Regions from separate parts of the Homo sapiens genome. Here all the other regions are linked to region 2. The links are contacts of gene promoters, found by promoter capture Hi-C in human tissues and cell types (Jung and others, 2019). All regions are on one chromosome and are shown on one strand. Each heading gives the region's core, a stretch centred on a gene start or on the middle of the fragment in contact. The rest is flanking DNA. Distances are from core to core; before and after follow the strand shown. Region 1 overlaps MCM3AP (minichromosome maintenance complex component 3 associated protein). Region 2 holds the start of PRMT2 (protein arginine methyltransferase 2). Region 3 overlaps MCM3AP (minichromosome maintenance complex component 3 associated protein). Region 4 overlaps LSS (lanosterol synthase).

What was found. Contacts are between HindIII fragments. The study calls those that stand out against the background at their distance.
Region 1: a fragment that was not itself captured here is called in contact with the fragment with the promoter of PRMT2 in region 2 in 1 of the 25 tissues and cell types used here (lymphoblastoid cells).
Region 3: a contact is called between a fragment that was not itself captured here and the fragment with the promoter of PRMT2 in region 2, in 1 of the 25 tissues and cell types used here (dorsolateral prefrontal cortex).
Region 4: a contact is called between a fragment that was not itself captured here and the fragment with the promoter of PRMT2 in region 2, in 2 of the 25 tissues and cell types used here (hippocampus and spleen).

The regions. Positions count from the first base shown.
Region 1 is chr21:46,249,909-46,252,608 of GRCh38, forward strand. MCM3AP (minichromosome maintenance complex component 3 associated protein) reads right to left here. Exons shown (of 28, transcript NM_003906.5): 20 at 1,621-1,774. MCM3AP-AS1 (MCM3AP antisense RNA 1) reads left to right here. Exons shown (of 4, transcript NR_110565.1): 4 at 1-1,793. Among named protein-coding and RNA genes, the nearest start is that of MCM3AP-AS1, 22 kb to the left of the region's middle. The HindIII fragment of the contact is 8,485 bases long and covers 1-2,700 here.
Region 2 is chr21:46,634,281-46,636,980 of GRCh38, forward strand. PRMT2 (protein arginine methyltransferase 2) reads left to right here and starts at 1,394. Exons shown (of 12, transcript NM_206962.4): 1 at 1,394-1,483; 2 at 2,159-2,267; 3 at 2,616-2,700. The coding sequence starts at 2,672. RefSeq lists an enhancer at 492-1,162 and silencers at 933-1,152, 1,263-1,812. The HindIII fragment of the contact is 3,678 bases long and covers 1-2,700 here.
Region 3 is chr21:46,271,509-46,274,208 of GRCh38, forward strand. MCM3AP (minichromosome maintenance complex component 3 associated protein) reads right to left here. Exons shown (of 28, transcript NM_003906.5): 7 at 1,880-2,077; 8 at 1,053-1,321. Among named protein-coding and RNA genes, the nearest start is that of MCM3AP, 13 kb to the right of the region's middle. The HindIII fragment of the contact is 8,173 bases long and covers 1-2,700 here.
Region 4 is chr21:46,202,386-46,205,214 of GRCh38, forward strand. The region is part of intron 17 of LSS (lanosterol synthase); the gene reads right to left. Among named protein-coding and RNA genes, the nearest start is that of SNORD159, 9.6 kb to the left of the region's middle. The HindIII fragment of the contact is 6,573 bases long and covers 1-2,829 here.

The DNA.
Region 1 (2,700 bases), core at 14-2,513, 380 kb before region 2:
GAACTTGCCCAAGGTCACAGAGCTTCCAAGTGGAGGAGCAGGGACACATATGCTCACAATGATGGCACTAAGGCACATGTTGCCTGGATGGAGACCAGCCCACAGATGAGAGTTCCAGGACAGAGGGAACATGGATGGATCAAGTGAAGTGACAGAACATTTGGAAAACTCTACCGAGATATATACGGCCCCCCAGTAAAATTAAAGAGATAAAGAGAACTACATTAAGTGAGACAATAAGGCAACTCTATTTCTTGCAGGAAAAAAATAATTGTGGTTATAGAACACTACTGGTTCTGAGGTGAATAGCAGTCACAGAGCCATCAAAATATGACCCCACTCACTGAAGTAATACAAAGTGCTAGTGTAGCTATCCCGGGAAGACGTGGAAGGCCGAGCAAGGACCATGGCACAAGAGGCCACGCTGTACCTAGTATGGTATGCAGTGGCCAAGAGGACCCCCCTGATTCCACCTAGTGTTCATGCCCACGTGTGATCTCCTGCCCCGTGAGCTGGGCCTAGCCACTCACTTCTGACAGACAGAAGCCAACAAAAGCAACAGGATGTCACTTCTAAGTTTAGGTTATAAACACACTCAGACTTCCATCTAGGCTCACCTCTTGCTCACTCTGATGAAAGCCAGCTGCCATGCTGTCAGCTGGGGAGAGGCCCATGTGGCAGGAACTGAGGAAGTCTTTGGCCACAGCCTGCAAGGAAGTGAATCCTGACACAAGCTCACTAGAGTGAGCTGGGAAGTAGATACCCTTCAGTCAAGCTTTCAGATGAGGCCACAATCCTAGCCAACATTTTCATTTCCACCCATGAGAAACCTTGAGCCAGAAGACCCAAGCTAAGCTACACCTGGATTCCTGACCCACAGATACCATGATAACAGACATTATTTTAAGCTGCTATGTTAGGAGTAATTAGTTATTTAGGAATAAGGTAACTAATACATTTATATTAATGGGAAGTCAGCAGAGAACATTTAAATGGATAAACTGAGAAATGGCTGTGTAAGTGTGTGATCTGGAAACAGGAGAAAAATGCAGCCCTGAAGAAAGGAGTTAAGAGAGGAAGGAGGAGCTACTATGTCTCATTTTAAATCACGTGGGTGGCATTATTTGACTTCTTTTTAAGTACACGGAAGTGTTACTTTCTTAAATGAAAATGAAGGTAACAGCAGCAGTAAACTAATTTCCAGTAGATGAAATGTGACTTTGTAATCCCAGGAAAAGGGAAGAATTTGCACCAAGAAGTTACTGTTACCTCAGAATGGCAAGAGCATGGATGGCTCTTATCATCATCTTTATACTTCTTTTACATTTCCTCATTTTTTAAAAGTTTTGTGTACATATTACATTTAGGAAATCCAATATATAGTATTAAAACAGAAAAAGTAAAGAAGCAGGCTGGGCTTGGTGCCCACTACTCAATTTGACTGGCTTAAAAAAATTTTTTAAACGACATGTACGGACAGACATAATACTTGCTTCTGAGCCTCCCAGTCTTTCAAAACCACATTAGGGAATAAGCAGTATTTGCATGGTTCCAGTGATATCTGGGAGTAAGTGAAAGTAATGAAAACACAGAAGTAAACACAAAGTAATTATAGTTCACCTTTATACACACGTTAACAGAAATCATCTGATCCCCTTTGCTGCTAAGTGAGTTGAAAAGCGAAAGCGTCTGAATCCCACCAGCATCGCTGGATGTGTCATCCACTGAGCCTTCATCTCCCATGAACTTGACTTTTAACCAATTTGCTAGAATTCTACAGATTTAAAAAAAACAAAAAACAAAAAAAACACTTGAAGAATCTAATTCTATATTTGAATTATAAAGACTTTCAGGAAAAGAAGAAAGAAAAATATCACACAGACCTAGGTCCACAAATACCACATCTTACTATGAAGCTGATCTGCACAAAACAGGCTGTTGTTTTAAAATGGAGCAACGATCTGTACTCGTTCTTTTTTTTTTTTTTTTTTTTTTGAGCCAGGGTCTCGCTCTGTCGCCCAAGCTAGAGTGCAATGGCACAAACTTGGCTCACCGCAGCAAGCAAACCTGCCTCAGTAGCTGAGACTACAGGCACGGGCCACCATGCCCAGCTAATCTTTCCATTTTTTTTGTAGAGTGTCACTCAAAGGGTCTCACTATGTTGCTCATGCTGGCCTCAAACTCCTGGGCTCAAGCAATCCTCCCTCCACAGCCTCCCCAGTTGCTGGGATTACAGGCATGAGCCACTGCTCCCGGCTTCTACTTGTTCTTAATTGGGCAGGAGGAGGGGGCACTCCATTCCATTAGAATGGAACTGGCTCATTCTAATGTGACTTAAAATTCTGAAGCATTAAGATTTTCAGCAATAGAAAACATCCCTAGAGTTTGAAATACATGTTTTTTACAGATCAAATTTCTCATACCTGAGACCTTAAGAATTCTTAAGTGACATACGAACTTAGCAAATGAGAAGACAGCTATTTTAAGAAATGACTCACCAGCTGGGCGTAGTGGCTCACGCCTGTAATCCCAGCACCTTGGGAGGCCAAGGCAGGTGGATCGCTTGAGCCCAGTTTGAGACCAGCCTGGGCAACATCACAAAACCCTGTCTCTACAAAATATATACAAAACTAAGCTGGGCGTGGTGGTGTGCGCCTGTAATCCCAGCTACTTGGGAGGCTGAGGCAGGAAAATTGCTTG
Region 2 (2,700 bases), core at 144-2,643:
TCTGGGTAGATCAGGGATTCTCTGGAGGGGGTGCTTCCAGGCCTCAGCAAATTGTCCTATTGGTTTGAGCCATAAAGATAGCTCAAGCTGGTACTAAGGACTGACAGATTTGTCAAAGGTCAGTGGCACCTCTACTCAGAATCCCTTTGTGGTTACCAAAATGTGAACCTTGAATATCTGAGTCAGATCTCAGTCAACTTAGGAAGTTTATTTTGCTGAATTTAAGGATGCACGCCCATGACACGGCCGTCGGAGGCCCTGATGACATGTGCCCAAGGTGGTCAGAGCACAGTTTGGTTTTATACGTTTTAGGGAGACATGAGACATCAATCAATATATGTAAGATGAACATTGGTTTGGTCCGGAAGGGCGGGACAACTCAAAGCAAAGGCAGGAGGGAGCTTCCAGGTCATAGGTAAATATGAGACAAATCATTGCATTCCCTTGAGTTTCTGGTTAGCCTCTCCAGAGGTGGCAATCAGATACGCATTTATCTCAGTGAGCTGAGAGATGACTTTGAACAGAATGGGAGGCAGGTTTGCCCTAAGCAGTTCCCAACTTGACTTTTCCTTTTAAGCTTAATGATTTTGCGGCCCCCAAATTTATTTTCCTTCCACATTTTTTTTTTTAAATCAGACTTAAGGTCTGCCTTGATGTTAATGCTGGAGGAGTGTAAAAAGGCATGTCCAACTCTTACTTCCCTTCGAGGCCAGAATAGTCTCTCAGGTTGAACTTCAGGGTCCCCTGGTAAAGGAGGGAGTCCAGTCAGACGGCTGCGGGGGAGGGGGGGCTTCGAATTTTATGTTTTACAGGCATTAGCGCCACCCATTTCTCCTTAACCCCAAACTTCCTCTCCCCACAACAGAAACGTCATCATTCTGCTTCCACTTATCCAGAAGAAAGGCAGAGGGCGCACACTGCGCAGCGCGGATGGGAAAGTTAACTGAATTATTTGCGGGAAGACAGAGGAGGTGGGGGGTCCCCCAAGCCCCAGCCATTTTGTGGCTCGTAGGGGTTGTCGCTTCCCAAGCCGTGAATGGCCCAAACCCGCCCCCCGCCCCAGGTCGGACTCCTGCCCCGCGCCCCTCTGGGTCGGACCCCAAGCCGAGCCCCCCAACCCCGCGGCTGGGCTGGGCGATTGGGGACGAGCTCCACACATGGAGAACCTGGCCTCGCCTCGCAAGACCGCGGGACGCGCAGATGTGAAGTGCGCCTGCGCGGGGCGCAGCCCCAGCTGCAGACGATCTGTGAGCGACGCGCCGGCGCAAGTCGAGGGCGGTGGCTTGGCTTCCCTGGAATGGGGGACGTCTTAGGACTGCGCCTGCGCGGGGCGCCGGGCCCTGGGCGGGGCCTTCCCGGCTGACGGCCTGCGTGCACTGCGCTTGCGCGGGTTGAGGGCGGTGGCTCAGGCTCCTGGAAAGGACCGTCCACCCCTCCGCGCTGGCGGTGTGGACGCGGAACTCAGCGGAGAAACGCGATTGAGGTAGGTGTCCTGATGGGCAGCTCAGATGGCTGGACTGCACGTAAGGAAGGACAGGCCAGGTGAGGCGTCCTCGCACTGCGTGTGCGTCGCTGGCGGACAGAGGCCTCCGCCCCCTTTTGGGACCTCCGAGCGCCTTCGCGATCTCAGCCACTTTCCCTGGCGTCCAAACGGGAGCTCGGTCCCCGTCACACCCTTCCCTGCGTGCCGCACCCCTTCCCGGCCACTCCCGCCGTCCAGCGCCTTCTACGGCCACGCCCACCCCACCACCATCTCTGTCACGCCCTTCGCGGCCACGCCCACCTGCCTGGCGGCCCCTGCCCCGAAGCTCGCGGCGCTGTCCCAGCCTGACCCTCTCGTGCCCCTGCGTCCACGCGTGGCCCTCTCGCTTCCTGCCCCCTTCTCACCCCCCTTCACTGGCCACCTGTTCCAACCCTCCATGATCCTGTTCCTCCCGAGGGCATCTTAGGAGGGCAGGGTCCTGCGCGCACTGCGGCCTCCACTCCGACCCCGTCCCAGTTTGGACCCAGGTCTTCCAATGAAAATATAATTATGCAAATCAGTAAGCATTTGTAACTACGAATATCACAAAAATAAGCTTCAAGTCTGGATTTAGAAGTGAAGCATGCATTTTAAACAAAGAATTGCTATGCAATTTTAAAAACACATTGATCCCAGAGCAGTGTGTGGATTACACTATCACTGGAAAAATACGAATTGAGAAGAAGGAAAAGACTGGAAGATGCAGACCTTGGTTCCTGTTAGTGGAAACACTGTAAGGTCCCAGGTAGGGACTTTTAATTGGAATTAAAGCTATCACACTTCTAAGAAATTAATGAATACTGATTTATTGCCTTAAGTCGACACCTGATCTAACAGAAACTAACAGGCTTCAGCAAATGAACAAGATTAACACCTTGCAGACTAGTGAAGAAAACACACTATTTGAAGTTTATGATTTTTAAATGCTTTTGTCTCTGTAAAGTATTGTAAATTTTCATTTCTACACTAATCTTCACACATACACATTTTACTTCTATTTGGTAGAGGACATCATGCACATTAGAAGTTAAGTGAACTCAATTATTAAGCAATGTAACAAGTACTTTGTGTCTCCTTCTCTTTTTAAAAGTAGAAATGGAAAAGAAAATGAAATAAATCAGCAGTTATGAGGCAGAGCCTAAGAGAACTATGGCAACATCAGGTGACTGTCCCAGAAG
Region 3 (2,700 bases), core at 137-2,636, 360 kb before region 2:
TTCATTTTTGTGGAAGGGTCTCACCATGTTGCCCAGGCTATACAAGGCTTAATTTTAAAATTTAAAATCAGCCGGGCATGGAGACTCTAACTGTAATCCCAGCACTTTGGGAGGCCGAGGCAGGTGGATCACCTGAGGTCAGGAGTTCCGGACAAGCCTGGCCAACATGGTGAAACCCTGTCTCTACTAAAAATACAAAAAAATGAGGCGGGCATGGTGGTATGTGCCTGTAATCCCAGCTACTCAGGAGACTGAGGCAAGAGAATCGCTTGAACCCAGGAGGTGGAGGTTGCAGTGAGCCAAGATCGCACTACTGTACTCCGGCCTGGGCAACAGAGCAGGACTCGGTCTCAAAAATAAAATGAAATAAAAAATTAAAATCAACCACACATCTAGATATTCTGTCACACAGTTCTTGAGGAAAATACAAAGAAAAAAAAAAGAGGTTCACCATTGATAGGGGATTCTTAGAACTAAAGGGGACACTGTCCACCATAAGTCCAGCTTAACCACAAGCAGAGGGTCCACCACAAGCAGAGGGCCAGAGAGCTCGCCAGACTTCGCATGTAAGTGACTAATTATGGATCAGACCAGGGTTTTACATTCATTCATTCTCACTACCCCATTCTTCGCATTTTTGTTTTACATAATTTTTTCCTCTCTTATTCTGAGATCTTTGACAAAACTATCTGGGAACAGGGAACTGCTAACAACCTTGCAGGGCACCTGGAACTCCCTCTCCTGGTTCACTCACCTGTCTCATGAGGAGGATTCCTTCCTCATTTTCTCACTGGTGAGGAGAAACTATTTTCAGAAATGAACATGTGGGGCCTACGTCAGATGTGCTGGTCCCAGGGCACACCCCCATCGCTCTTCCCCCAGCTCAGCTCAGCCGACTGCAAAGCCAGACCAAGGTCCTCTACTATCATCCCAACATCTGCTACCAGACAGAATGCTGCACTATTGGCTACTGCCACTCCTGAAAGCTCTTCTCCTGTTTAAAGCCTGCCTTTTCAGCCACCTTAGGACAACTTTTGGATGTGAAAATTCACCTTAGGATGTCTCCCTTGTTGAGACTGAGCAGAACATTGTAGCCCTGGAACTCCGCTTCGCTGGCACAGAAGACACCCTTGTTTCTCAGGTCCTGGTACATCTCCTTCAGGCTCTGCAGGCACTTGGTCATGTTCTCATTATTGATCTTGGCATCAAAGGAGGACATGGGCTCCTCACACATGAAGTGGGCACAGTGGATGTGAAACCGGGTGCACTTCTCAATCAGGGACACCGTCAGGGGGTCACAGAGGTGCTGCTGCGTGATATCCTGGCCACAGGCGAGGGGGAGGATCACACACACATTCCCATGCAAAGAGGCAACCGTGAGAAGGATCATGCTACGACCTCAATTTCTCACTTTTCAATTTGAAACAAAGCCCATGATGCACATTTTAATAGGACTTTGTAGTGACTTAAATAAAAGTCCTGGGGTTTGTTTTTTTTTTTGAGACAGAAGCCAGGCTGGAGTGCAGTGGTGTCATCTTGGCTCACCACAACCTCCGCCTCCCAGGTTCAAGCAATTCTGCTTCAGCCGCTCGAGTAGCTGGGACTACAGGCGTGTGCCACCACGCCAAGCTAATTTTTGTATTTTCAGTAGAGATGGGGTTTAACCATGTTGGCCAGGCTGGTCTCAAACTCCTGACCTCAGGTGATCCACCCACCTCGGCCTCCCAGAGTGCTGGGATTACAGGCCTGAGCCACTGCACCTGGCCCACAAAAGTACATTTTTGTTACAGATAAAATATATAACAGAGTAATAAAAATATCAGTTTGACTTTGGAATTTGCGTGGATTTTTTAGCATCCAGGTTGGAGGCAGCCAATACCTTCCGTATGCCACGCGTGCGGTTCCACACGAAGTCATACCAATCCCGCAGGCTGCCCTCCTTCTGGTCCATGATCTGGGTCACCAGGTAGTCCATGGTCCTGCTGAGCACTGGCAAGGGCCGCAGCTCGTGGGGCAGGGGCTCCTCCTGATCCGCCGAGGACCGACTGTACTCTTTCACAGCTGCTGCGTGGTCCACCTAGAGACATGAAGCCGAGACAGGATGCCCATGTGGCATACCTTGGGCCAGGCATAGTTATGCCTGAAAATGAGGGGGAAAATCACATACACACCCACACAAGATCAGTATTTGAGAATATATTTTTTCAACATAAAATTTCTGTTAAAAGGTGACAATCAAAATTCAAAGACAAATAGAGAAATTTGATTTTGGCAAATATGACAAGGAGTTAAGATATGAGTGCGTCATGACAAACAGGAGGAATGTTAAGTGAAGGCACATCTGCTAGCCTCCAAAGCAGAGAGACGGGACAGGGAAGGGCCTCAAGCACTTAAAAGGTCTCAGGCCCGCTCACACACCAGATTAAGTCTACACAGAGCAGAAGTGAAACAGAGACAGGCGGTGAGGACTGCTGAGGACACAGCATCAGGGGCTGGCTGCCCACCTGGGGCCTGGAATTGCATCTCCCACCTCAAAAGGAGGCTGAAGACGTGGCCAAGGGAAGAGGCAGAGATGTACACAGGACAAGGCCCTGGGCATGTGCCTCTCCTGGGGCAGGGGCCCTACAGTGACACGAGTTGCTGGGCTGGGGACCCCGCACCAGGCGAAGGGTGTATAAAGCCACCAGCCAGGAAGAGGAG
Region 4 (2,829 bases), core at 160-2,659, 430 kb before region 2:
TCCGTCTCAAAAAAAAAAAAAATAAATAAAATAAAATCTTAATATAAAAATCACACTAATATATTTAACCATTTAAAAGTTAAAAACTTATGTTCATACTCCCTAAAGAGATAAAAAGAACAAAGAAATTGAGGGGAAAATATCTGTAACATAATACACAAATACTTACTGTGCTTAAAAATGAAAGAAAAAACTTCCTGGTGAAAATTTTAAAAATGGCTGGGTGTGGTGGCTCACTCTGTAATCCCAGCATTTGGGGAGGCCGAGGTGGGAGGATTGCTTGAGCCCAGCAGTTCAAGACCAGCCTGAGCAACATTTAAAAAATACAAAACATTTAAAAAATTAGCCACAGGTGATGGTATGCACCTGTAGTCCCAGCTACTCAGGAGGCTGAGGTGGGAGGATTGCTTGAGCCCGGAAGTTTGAGACTGTGGTGAGCCATGATTTTGCTACTGCACTCCAGCCTAGGTAACAGAGTGAGACCCTGCTTCAAACAAATAAACAAAAAAAGAATGTTCTAGCTTGGAAGTCACCAAAGAAATGCAGAGGAAGCCCGCGATTAAGTCACCATTGCTCCCCTGCGGGCCACATCCGGGACTCATTGTTCTACACAGTGACAACAACTGACATGTGCTTCCCTGTGGCATCTCACACAATCCCACCACTCTGTGAGGCTGTACTGTTGCCCACTCAGGCAGGGAGAGAGATGAGCAGAGAAGAGAAGTCACCAGGCCAGGTCAGACAGCCAGAAGGGGCAGGGATGGGGGCTGACCCAGGCAGGTGGACCCCAAGCCATGTGGCTCTAGGGAATAATAATGGTCATGAATAAATATTTAACAAGAAAATACCAGTTAAGGTTAAAATGGGGAAAAGCTAAAAAACAACAAGGAAAACTGAAAAATAACCCAGAGGCTACTGAGTAAAATGACACAACACCTGTGCCATTACTGCTCGTGCTGGAGGAGCGCGCTCAATGGTGGGGCTTTTAGAAACCTCACCAGGCACAAAGTGGGCCAGGCGTGAAAGGGGCAGCAAGCCGCCATGGAAATGTGGAGACCAAACAGCAACAGCAGATTCTCCTTCAGGGGCGAGGAGGGGCGACTTAGCTTCTTCTTTGCGCTTCTCTGTATTTTGCAAGTCTTGTTTGCAAAGAACCTGCTTTACTTTTATTACAGTGATTTTTAAAAGATGATCTATTTTTTAAAAGGCCAATTCTCTAAATGTGGCTGAGGACAACTCACGCCCACCTCATGCCGCAGAGCAGCACATGGCCGAGGGCCACGCCAGGCCGACAGAAGACCCTGGACACAGTGCCCTCCTAGCTGCACCTGTGAAGCACAAGAAAACCCCTGCTCCATCCACGGCTTCCAAAAAAACCACACCAGAACATTCTCAGATTGTAAATGAAGCAGCATACTCCCACATAACTCATGGGCCAGAGAAGAACAGTAGAAACAGAAAACACTTTTAGTATCTGTGCTACCACAGCAAGCACCAGAACACACATTTAACTGAATGATATCTCAAAACTCATTTATAGCCTCAAATTCATATTTCAATAAAAGCCTGAAAATCAAATATCTAAGTATTCAAGTTAGAAAAATAAAGGAGAAAGAAAATAGCAAAGGCCAGTGTGGTGGCTCACACCTGTAATCCCAGCACTCTGGGAGGCCAAGGAAGGTGGATCACCTGAGGTCAGGAGTTCAAGACCAGCTTGGACAACATGGTAAAACCCTGTCTCTAATAAAAATACCAAAAAATTGGCCAGTCATGGTGGTCAGCACCTGTAGTCCCAGCTACTCGGGAGGCTGAGGCAGGAGAATCGCTTGAACCCCGGAAACGGAGGTTGCAGTGAACTGAGATCACGCCACTGCTCCCCAACCTCAGCAACAGAGCAAGACTCCATCTCAAAAAAATTAAGAAAGAAAGAAAATAACAAACAATAGAAATTGATGAAACCAAAAATAAAGTCTCTTTAAAAACAGAATCAAAGACTAAGATTTTTTTTTTTTCAAAAGATCAGTATAAGATTCTCAGAAGGAAGAGGAGGATGTCAGCGTTGGGCTCAGAGCCATCTAAGAGGACACTGAACAACTTTGCATGAATCAGTGTAAAGCTGAGTGGAAATGGGAAGACTCCCCAGACTGATACAAAAATGGAAAATCTGCTCAGTCCTATAAACTATTAAAGAAATTACACCGCACTCCAGCCTGAGTGAGAGAGCTAGAACCCATCTCAAAAAAAAAAGAAAGAAAGAAAGAAAGAAAGAAATTGAACTTCTAATTTAAAAACTTTCCTCAAAGAAATCTCCAGGCCCAACTGGCATTTCCGGTAATTTTTCCCAAACATTTAAGGCAGAAATATTATGAATATTACATAAATTCTTCCAAAGAGTATTTTAAAAGCATTTTCCAACTGCTTTTCTAAGTCCAGCATCATCTTAACAGGAAAACCTGACAAAAACATTATAAAGAAAAAAAAATTATAGACCAGCGTCTCTTGTAACCAGAGTTGCTAAAATCCTAACAAAATATTCTTCAAATTGAATCTAGCAATATATAAAAAGGACAGTGCATTGTGACCAAGGTGAGTCTACACCAGGTTGAACAAAAGTAAAAAAATGTAATCGTGATAGGATAAAGAAGAACCTACAAAAATCACATACCCTATAACGTACCCTCTAACACAGCAATGCCACTCCTAGGTACGTGACCATGAGAAATGGGTACCCAGGTGCCCCCAAAAGATAAGTACAAGAGTGTTCACAGTAGATGCTTCATAATAACCCAGACTGAAATCCTCCCAGGTGCTGAGAACAGGCAGCTGGAT